Linked DNA regions of Homo sapiens: regions 2 and 3 are each linked to region 1. The links are contacts of gene promoters, found by promoter capture Hi-C in blood cells and fetal thymus (Javierre and others, 2016). All regions are on one chromosome and are shown on one strand. The core of a region is centred on a gene start or on the middle of the fragment in contact, and the rest is flanking DNA. Distances in the headings are between cores, read along the strand shown.

What was found. The method cuts DNA at HindIII sites, captures the fragments that hold promoters and counts their contacts. A CHiCAGO score of 5 or more calls a contact.
Region 2: the fragment with the promoter of HPCAL4 here is called in contact with a fragment that was not itself captured in region 1 in 2 of 17 cell types (endothelial precursors and M1 macrophages); the score reaches 5.9 in endothelial precursors.
Region 3: the fragment with the promoter of NT5C1A here is called in contact with a fragment that was not itself captured in region 1 in 3 of 17 cell types (megakaryocytes, M1 macrophages and M2 macrophages); the score reaches 6.2 in megakaryocytes.

The regions. Positions count from the first base shown.
Region 1 is chr1:39,602,683-39,606,155 of GRCh38, reverse strand. No RefSeq gene overlaps it. Among named protein-coding and RNA genes, the nearest start is that of PABPC4, 28 kb to the right of the region's middle. The HindIII fragment of the contact is 753 bases long and covers 1,344-2,096 here.
Region 2 is chr1:39,689,787-39,693,259 of GRCh38, reverse strand. HPCAL4 (hippocalcin like 4) reads left to right here and starts at 1,827. Exons shown (of 4, transcript NM_016257.4): 1 at 1,827-1,954. RefSeq lists an enhancer at 858-1,448 and silencers at 1,521-1,750, 1,971-2,050, 3,325-3,473. The HindIII fragment of the contact is 11,293 bases long and covers 1,487-3,473 here.
Region 3 is chr1:39,670,471-39,673,943 of GRCh38, reverse strand. NT5C1A (5'-nucleotidase, cytosolic IA) reads left to right here and starts at 1,837. Exons shown (of 6, transcript NM_032526.3): 1 at 1,837-2,040. The coding sequence starts at 1,906. RefSeq lists a silencer at 1,645-2,054. The HindIII fragment of the contact is 2,595 bases long and covers 512-3,106 here.

The sequences.
Region 1 (3,473 bases), core at 471-2,970:
GCTCCAGGGGAATTACCCTGATGAAAAATACGTCACCCACACTTCCACACCCAAACAAATGAGCAAAGGATAACAGGCTTGTTGGGACTCACAGCTCAGTTGTCCAGACCTTCAAAGAATATATTCTCACTATGTGATTCATTTTATGTGTCAACTTGACTGAGTCATGGACTGCTCGGTTTATTTGGTCAAACATTGTGAGTGTATCTGTGAGGCTGTTTTTGGATGGGATTAACACTTGACTGAATAAAGCAAACTGCATGCCCCCATGTGGGTGGCCCTCATCCAGTCAGACCTGAATAGAACAAAAAGGCCACCCCTCCCTCAAGTAAGAGGCAATGTCTCCTGCCTGACCGTATGAGCTGGGACATGGGTCTTTTCCATTCTATAGATTTGAACTGAAACATTGGCTTTTCTTGGATCTCAAGCCAGTAGACTTTCAGACTGGAACACACATTGGCTCTCCTGGGTCTCCAGCTTGCTAACTGCAGATCTTGGGACTTCTCAACCTTCATAATCACATAAGCCAGTTTCTCATAATAAATAAATGGGTCCTGGCCGGGTGCAGTGGCTCACGCTTGTAATCCCAGCACTTTGGGAGGCCAAGGTGGGCGGATGACAAGGTCACGAGTTCAAGACCAGCCTGGGCAATATGATGAAACCCAGTCTCTACTAAAAATACAAAAATTAGCTGGGCCTGGTGGCAGGCGCCTGTAGTCCCAGCTACTCGGGAGGCTGAGGCAAGAGAATCGCTTGAACCCGGGAGGTGGAGATTGCAGTGAGCCAAGATTGTGCCACTGAACTCCAGCCTGGGCGACAGAGCGAGACTCCATCTCAAAAAAAAAATAAATAAATAAAAATAAGTCCTGTTGGTTCTGTTTCTCTGGAGAGCCCTAATACATTTTTTTTTTTTTCGAGACAGGCTCTTGCTCTGTCACCCAGGCTGGAGTCCAGTGGCGCTATCTCGGCTCACTGCAACCTCCGCCTCCCGGGATCAAGAGAATCTCGTGCCTCAGCTTCCAAAGTAGCTGGGACTAAAAGCATGTGCCATCACACCCAACTAATTTTTGTATTTTTGGTATTGATGGGGTTTCACCACGTTGGCCAGGCTGGTCTCAAATTCCTGACCTCAAATGATCTGCCCGCCTCGGCCTCCCAAAATGCTGGGATTACAGGCGTAAGCCACCACGCCGAGCCCTGACTAATACATTCTGTTTTATACAAACTGTTTTTACTGGGTGGAAAAGAAGGGAAAACTGCCTAACTTGTTTTGTAATACTAGTATGCCCTTGTCATCAGCCCACGACAGGGCAATTAAAGGTAAGAACATTTTAGAACAAGCTTAGTTACGGTTATAGATACAAACATCCTAAATAATAAAACAGAATCCATATGACATCTAAATTAGAAGCAAATATGTAGTAGAGTTTAGCCAAAAATGCAAGGATAGGTTAACAACAGGGAAAGAATTCCTGTTCTGAACCTTAATACATTAAAAGATAAAAAGTATATAATCACTTAAATAAATAATCATTTGATGAATTCATTCATTTTTCAAATCTTAGCAAATTAGGATTAGTAGGATAATACCTTAACCCTATAAAGGATATTTGCCAAATTCCTAAACATCAAATTCAACGGTGAAACTCTAGCATTCCCATAAAAGTTAAAAATATGAATGCCCTTTATTCAAAATTTGATGGGCATTTCTAGCTAATGTAATAAATATAATAGAAATCAGAGGCTTAGGAAGTAGGAAGAGGTAACACCATTCTTATATGCATGATTCATTTTCTATTTGGAAAATAAAAATCTACATGCAGAGCATTAGAATTGATAAGAGTATTTGACAGGTTAGTTGAATACAAGATCATCCCACACATTCTGACAGCACTCTTGTTAATTGCTTATTGGAGTAACAACAAATAAGAACATATTGTGTCCAGAGTCGGTTCCTTCTGGTGGGTTCTTGGTCTCACTGACTTCAAGAATGAAGCTGTGGACCTTCCCGGTGAGTGTTACAGCTCTTAAAGATGGCACGGGCCCAAAGAGTAAGCACCAGCGAGTTTTATTATGAAAAGTGAAAGAACAAAGCTTCCACAGCTTGGAAGGGGACCCAAGCCGGTTGTGGTGGCTGGCTGGGGTGGGGGGGGGTGGCCAGCTTTTATTCCCTTATTTGTCCCCACCCATGTCCTGCTGATGGGTTCATTTTACAGAGCACTGATTGGTCCATTTTACAGTGTGCTGATTGGCGCATTTTACAAACCTCTAGCTAGCCACAGAGCGCTGATTGGTGCATTTTTCAATCCTAGCTACAGAGTGCCAGTTGGTGCATTTTACAATTTTCTTGTAAGACAGAAAAGTTCTCCAAGTCCCCACCCAACCCAGAAGTCCAGGTGGCTTCACCTCTCAATGTGGCTGGGCTTGGAGGCTCACACCTGTAATCCCAACACTTTGGGAGGCTGAGGTGGGTGGATCACCGAGGTCAGGAGTTTGAGACCACCCTGGCCAACATAGAGAAACCCTGTCTCTGCTAAAAATACAAAAATTAGCCAGGTGTGGTGGTGCTTGCCTGTAATCCCAGCTACTCAGGAGGCTGAGGCAGGAGAATCGCCTGAACCCGGGCAGCGGAGGTTGCAGTGAGCCGAGATGGCTCCCCTGCACTCCAGCCTGGGGGACAGAGCAAGACTCCATCTCAAAAAAAAAAAAGCAAAAAAAAGCTGGGTGGGGTGGCTCACGCCTGTAATCCCAGCACTTTGGGAGGCCGAGGTGGGTGGATCACGAGGTCAAGAGATCAAGACCATCTTGGCCAACATGGTGAAACCCCGTTTCTACTAAAAATACAAAAATTAGGTGAGCGTTGTGGCACACACCTGTAGTCCCACCTACTCGGGAGGCTGAGGCAGCAGAATCACTTGTACCTGGAAGGCAGAGGTTGCAGTGAGCCGAGATCACACCACTGCACTCCAGCCTGGCGACAGAGTGAGAATCTGTCTCAAAAAAAAAAAAAAAGAAAGAATGTATTATTTATAATGCATTTCCAATAGCAACAAAAATTATAAGGCACCTAGGAATATACATGTAACATATTGATCTGCATTGATCAATATACAAAATATACATATAACAAAAGATGGCTAGATGTTTTCTCAGAAAACTATGAAACATTTTTAAATGTAAAGGAATACAAAACTAAACATACTCTTACCATACAACACAGCAGTCATGCTTTTTAATATTTAACCAAATGAGTTAAAAACATATCCGCCCAGAAAACCTGTGCATGGATGATTATAGCAGTTTTATTCATAATTGTCAAAACTTAGAAGCAACTAAGATGTCCTTTAGTAGGTAAATGGAGAAACTGTGGTACATCCATACAATTGAATATTAATTCAACTCTAAAAATAAATCAGCTATCAAGCCACAGAAAGAAATGGAGGAAACAAATGCATGTTACTAAGTGAAAGAAG
Region 2 (3,473 bases), core at 578-3,077, 87 kb before region 1:
CCACCTGGTTGAAAATTTCCCCCTGCTCCTCTGGACCTCTTGAGCCAGCTCCCACATTTCACAGACTGGGAGGCCCAGAATGAGAAGGGTTTTGCCCACGGTCGTAAATGGAATCATTGGCAAAAATGAGACTCAATGTTAGCAATATGAACTTGGGTCAGTCAATGTTAGGGTTTCAGATACCACTTCTAGTAACCTGTGCTGCCTCTCCCCACTTCTTCACGCCTTGGATTATGGTTAACTGTGAGCAAGGGGGGTTCTCGCTCATCTCTGGGTCCCCAAGACCCAGAGCTGAGAAGGTATCAGAGAAGTGAAAGAGTTAGAGCTTCAAACACCTGTCTTTCATGAGTCACCAACCCATAGTGCCAAGGACGCGCCTTCTCCTACAGCTGCAGGTTCCTTGGAGCCCTCAGCCCCCGCTAAGGCCGCAGAGAGAAGGCATAGTCCGCAGCCTCGAAAATGGTAGAGCAAAACCGTTTCAAGGGGCAACGGGACAGGTCCTAAAGAAAAGGGACGTCCACGGGTTCCTCCCCCAGCGAGCCTGGCCCAGGCATTTCTGGGACCAGCTCCAGAAGCCTCGCCCCCACTCGCGGCAGGTCTGACCCCATCCTCCATCGCCCCGCCCAGCCCACCTCTACCTTCGCCGCGCGGACAGAAGCCCCGCCTCTCACCGCTGCTCTTCAGCGTCCGCGCTCCGATTAGGCCAATCCCCAGCCGTCCGCCCCGACTTTCGACAGATCCTTAGAAGTCCCTGCCCCGCACGTGGCCCAGCCCGGGGATGTCTGGCTCCCCTTTTGCCCCCAGTTTGGCTTAAAAGGGTTCCTTCCCACAGCCTTGTGTCAGGAGCTCTCAGACGCCAGTGCAGCCCAGGCGGCCGGCCCGGGCTGTGGGGAGACCCCCAAGTGCGGGGAGGAGGTGTTGCCGGGGCCCTGAAAGCTTCCAGACCCGCTCAGTGTAAACCGCCTCGGGTTTGTGTCAACATCCGAGGCCGGAGACTGGCGGCGGCTGGGGACCGGCTCCGTCTGCGGGACGGGAAAACGGGAGGGTGGGGAATGGAGGATCCATGGCTAGGCATAGGGGTCCTTCGGGGGAGAACGCGAGAGGCCTCTTGGGGGTCCATGAGAAAGGAGGAGGGCCCGTCTGGGGAGGGACCGGAATGAAGGGCCAGAGGGGTGGCTGGAGGGAACCCACGACTAGCGCGGGGCTAGGTAGAGGCTGGGACTTCGCCACCCATACCGCGCTCTCCGCGCGCAACCAGCACCCTCCTCTCTGCCCCACGGCGTGAGGGGAGTGGATGCGTGGGGAGGGGGGACGCAGAGATGTGGACTGCTGACCAGCCACCTCCTCCCTCTCCCACCCAGCTCCTCCCCAGCTCCTCTTTGGCCCCTCCCAATTTCGGGTGGGATATGGGTGTGGGGGGGGGTCTCATCTTGTGACTCATCCCCTCTTCCGCCCCCACCCATGCTGGGGCCCAGGAAAGGAAGCTTAGAGATTCGGCTGTGGTTCTCCCGTTTCCATAGCAACGGTGAGGTTGTTTTTGAGAATCCACTTTCATCGTCGACCCTTTCCACCCCAGACTTGTAAGCCGGGGGCTGAGCCTCAGGGCAGGGGTGCAGATGGGGGTGCAGCCCTCCCGCTTCCCGGCGACTCCGGGAAGGTCAGCGCGGGCAGGCGGGGCGCGCTCCTGCGGCCGGGCCTCGCCGGCCACCCGGTCCCCACCTGAAACCCCGCCTGCCACTCCGCTCCAGAGGAGCCAATAGCCGTGCAACCTGCCCGGGATGGGGCGGGGCTTATGCAAATAGTGTCGCCTTCGGGAGGCACATAGTGATACAAGAGCTGGAAGGCGGCTCCGGCGCAGACCTTGGAGAGCACAGCTGCCGGCCCGCGAGCCAGCCTCGGTTCCCGCGGCCCGCCGAGGCTCGGAGCCATCCAGCGACCCGGCGACCGGCCTCAGGTAATGCGAGTGGGACCGGGTCCTCAAGGCAACAAACCCACCGGGCGGAGGCCCTGGCCCCCTCCCCCTCCACTCTCCCTTCCCATCCTCATGTCCTGCCCTGATTCACCTCCCTGACCCGTGGTTCCGCCTTAGGCGGCAGCAACTGAAGAGCCCACCCCTGGGCAGGAGACCCCCCACCTCAGTCCAGGCCCATGGGTGCAGAGAAGGAGGCAGAGCCGCCTACTTATCCCCAGCTCAGGTGAGAACAACCATTGCTATGGCCCCCAACATACACGCGCGCAAACACACATACACACACAGATGCACACACACACATCTGGGGGTGTGGTGGCGCTGGTGCTAGCTGGAGGCGCTGGTCACCCTCCCTCCTGTTTGGATATGGGTTGTCTGCCCAGCACCATGGCAAACTCCCACCTCCACGGATAGCCCCTAGCCACTTCTCATCAGGGAGCCCCTGCCCCCAAAGACAGCCTCCCCCTCCACAGAGCGCTCCCTCCTTGTTGTCCCCAGACACTGTCCCCACATCCCACCCCTCAAGCTGACAGAGCCCACAGCATACCTGAGGGGGGGACAATCCCCCTTCCCCAGTTTTTCTCCTCACAGTCTCGACAGCCCTCCCCAGTGGCCCCCAGTGCTAGGCAGAGGCCCCATATTTGGCATCTCTCATCCTGGCGGGAGGATGAACCAAAGACACCACCCCCAGCAGACCACCCATACCGTCAGTCCAGTTGCTGCCAAGGCCCCAACCTCCATACCTCCTCCCTCCCCCCTCACAGCCAGGCACCAAATCCTCTCATTCTGCCTGTCAAATGTCTTTCTAATTTGTATGACTATTTGCTCCCTCTCTCCCACCTTCCTGCTGCTCCGTGGGGACCTTGCCAAGGTGCCATGTGGGCTGTATTGCTCTTGGCCCTAAAGTGAACTATACCTGGAGGGCAGATGAGCTGGGTTCAAATCTTGTACAGCCAAAGTTTGACTTTGGCCAAGTCACTCCCCTCTCTGATCCTTCATGAAAATGGGGAGAGGTATAACAGAGAGGGTAGACTGGGTGAGATGAACTTGAACAGCCTTCTGGCACTGAGACACTCTGGTTCTATGGCTGATTATGGAAAAACAGGATCCTGAACCAAGAGGACATTAAAGAGAGGAGACCTGAGGGGGGCGGGGTTGGTTTAGAACTCACTGAAGACACATTCCTTCTTAACCAGCCTAGGTACAGGCTACCTCCTCCCACACATTCTCCAGGCCCCTTCTATTAGGAGTCCCTCCTAGACCACCAGCCCATCCTGACATGGACAGCTCCAAATTGTAGGTGGCCAGCTGGGATTACTCTTTGTTTGTCATCCCCTGCCTCTCATTAAGAAGAAGAGGGAAAAGACCTGGTTGCTGCTGCTATTGCTGCTGCTTGGGGAAGAGCAAAGGGAGGAGAGGAAAGAGAGAAAAAATCTCCTGACCAGGGAGCTATTGTCACCATGGCAACCACCTCAGTACCAGCTCCTCTGAAGCTGGGTGAGGG
Region 3 (3,473 bases), core at 588-3,087, 68 kb before region 1:
ACAGCATGGGGGTGGCTCACTTTTGTGTGAAGTGCCCACCTCCATCCAAGTAACCACTCTATGTATTCTTCCTGAGTTACTTCATCATTCTTCTCCATGAGGCACCTGAGAATAATTGACCTCATTCCTAGAGTTTCAATTATTTATTGCAGTGTAACAAGCTACCCCAAAACTTGGTGCCTGAAACAACAATTTATTATTTTTGATGATTCTGTGAGTTGGCTGGGCTCAGCTGGAAGGTTTTACTGCTTCAGGTTGTGTTGGCTGGCGTCACCCACATAGCTGCACTCCACTGGGAGCTGAGCTGGGGCTGGGACAGCCAGGATGGCCTCATTCACATGTCTGTCAATTGTGCCTATAGTCACCTGGGCTGTCGCTAGCTTCTTATCCTCCAGGTCCTATCTGTCTCACTACGTGGCCTTTCCAGCAGGATAGTCCAGACTTATTTACATAGTAGCTGGCTCCCAAGAGGGCAAAAATGGAATCTGCAAGGCCTCTTAAGACGTAAGCTTGGAAACCACAGAGCACCACTTCTACTCCATTCAATTGGTCAAAGCAAGTCACAGGGCCAGCTCAGACTGGACTCCACCTCTGAATGGGAGGAATGTCAAAGTCACATTTCCAAAGGACAGGCAGGATGGAAGAGGTTTTTGGGCCATCTCTGGAAACAATCTTCTAGAAGTAAGTCTAAACACACTTCCCCCAATCCTAACATTTTATTATGATTTTTCCCTTCCTCCCACACAAGGGTTGGTTTATTCCTCCCAGGACCTGGTGGAGGCTGAGGGGATCACTCCATTCTGTAGCCCCCTCACCTCCCCAGTCAGAGGCCCTCCTAGCTAAGCCAGTGTTTTCTCCTGCTTCTCCCACCCACCCATGCACACCTCTGAGAGAGGCTGTCTGCTTCCTGGCCTGTACCTTGGGATGGGTGACATTTGTGTCTGCACCCTGAGACTAGTACAGAGCTCTGCATCAAGAGGGACAACACCCTGGAATTCCAGGATGGTAGTTCCGAGGCCCCTCTTCTGCCCTCCCTCTATCCAGCCCCTTCATGGCCTATAACAAATCACCCCAAGCTGGGCAGGTGGGGGCCTAGGAATGCGCGCCCTCTGCTGACCACCAAAGGGCCAGCAAGAATTCGGGTTCAGAGTCCCTGGGAGTCTCTCTGGCCTGGGTCCCCACCCCAGGCCAAGGTCTCGACCTGAGACCACCCGAGCCTGGTCTCAACATGGACTTCAAGGGCCCCTCCTAGGTGGTGTGGAGGAGCTGCCGGGTTGGGCCCTTCACTGAGCTCCCGCTGGGAGCAGGCTTCTGCTAGTGAGAGGAGCCATCCATGCATCACCTCCTGCCCGTCTGCCGGATGGACTGGCCTCGGAGGGAAGGGGACATCGTCAGGATCCCAGGGTCCTAGCTCCTAAAGGAAAGATGGGCAGCTAGCTTTTGGGAGGGGAGCGGCTAGCTTTTCATTTTGTCCTTTGGGGATCACTATCCTGGGGGAAAAAAAAAGTTGTCAGGCCTCTCCTGTCTCCGCGCCCTGCAGCGCCTGCGAAGAACATCATTTTCGCAATCCCCAATCCGCTGCAGCCCACAAACCCAGAGAGCCAGAGAGCCCCCCTCACCACCCAACCGGCTGCTGGCGTGGGTCGGTCGGGGAAGGAGAGCCCAGCTATCCCTCATACCGTACAGCAGTAGCAGCAGCAGCGGCAGCGACACACGGGCGACCGAGAGGGCCAGTGTGACCTCCCCCCGCCCGGCGGGCGGGGAGCCCAGCTCACACGCACAGCCTCCTCGCCGCTGCCCGCCCCCTTCCCTCGCCGGGACTCGCCTCCCTCCTGCAGCCCAGCCCCAGCCACCTCCGCGTCTACGCCGCCGCCTGCTCTGGCCGGGCCGGGTCAGAGCCGGAGCATGGAACCTGGGCAGCCCCGGGAGCCCCAGGAGCCCCGCGAGCCCGGGCCAGGAGCGGAGACCGCTGCGGCCCCGGTCTGGGAGGAAGCCAAGATTTTCTACGACAACCTCGCGCCCAAGAAGAAACCCAAATCGGTAAAAGCAATGCACGGGTATGCGGGGGACGGGGGAAGGGTTACCCCGGAGGAGGGGTCATAAGTCTCTTGGGAAGGGACCCGTGGCGCCCCTCTGGGAGGGGACGCAGCTCCTCAGCCCCAGAATGCGCCCTGCAGCTGGCGCGGGCTCGGGTTTATTTTGGGAGCTCTGCTCTGGTGTATTTTTTTACCGGGACTCGGGTTCCACGCCAGGCTCCCCCTCCCCCATGCTGTCATCAGGGCCCAGCTAGAGGCCCGCAGCCCCAGCCCCTCCCCACTCGGGCCGCCGGGGAGCGCGGATTGCACTTGTTGGCGAAGCTGGTCCGCAGCGCTTCCAGAAGCGCCCCAGGCGCGGGTAACCAGACTTTGGGAACCCGGTTCCTGGCTGTGCGCTCCGGTCTCCGCCATCTGGGCATCGGGCTCCGGACCTGAGACTCTGCGTTTGGGGTCTGGCTCTGGGTCCTGGGCCCTGGGCTGGGGGCAGTGCGCTCCCCGCGTCCTAAGGAAAGGGAGCTGCTCTCTCCAGGCACTGGGATCCACACTCTGCGCTGGGGGGCGATCGGCGCCCCTGGCCGCAGGCTCCCAGCGCTGGACTCTGCCCCCCAGCTCGGGTTCTGCTCCCCTTGCAGTGGGCATTAACATCCCCACGACCCTGTGGTGGTGTCAACCGTCTGGGACCTCACAGAGGAGCTCTCTCCTCTCTGCCATCAAACAAGTTGATGATGCCCTGGTCTGCCCCTGGACCTTGCTGTCTCCAACTTCCCAGATCTCAGAGCTTGAGGAGAAAACCGAGAATAGAGGTTGGCCCACAGCGGTCCTCCAAAGAGCTCCAGCTTGATCTTAAAGCAATTTGCTGCTTCCCTCCAAGAACCCTTCCCCAACAGGTCCACCCTATCAGCAATCATTCAATTAGCACCTCCAAGCTCTGCTCAAGAGTGGGGATTGAAGAATTAAATAACCTGAGTCCCTGCCTCAGGAGCTCACTGCACAATGATGGAGGCTCCAGAGATGAGAGCCTAGGGGAGTTGGGGGGGGAGTAGAGTAGTGACATCACACTGGGGAAAGCTTTGTAGAAGTGGCACGTATCCTGATCTTAAAGCCTGAGTAGGTGGAGTTTCCCAGGGAGAGGGAAACAGGACAGGCAAAAGTCATGCAGATGTCTCTGAAGCTCAGGACTGTGTTCCTGAATAAGTACTGAATGAAGAATGCAGGATTGTTGGAAGAAGAGCTGGAGGGATGTGGAAGAGCCCACAGAGGGCCTTGGGGATCATGTTAAGGAGTCTGGACCTTACTCAAGGGGGTCAGGGATTTCCAAACTAGCTTCCCCAAGCCCCATGTTTCAGGGAGTCTGCACACATGTGAATCCAATTTATTTTCTTTCTTCTTCGGACTATGTTTTAAACAATTAAAAATGTGTAATAAAACCCAACTCAC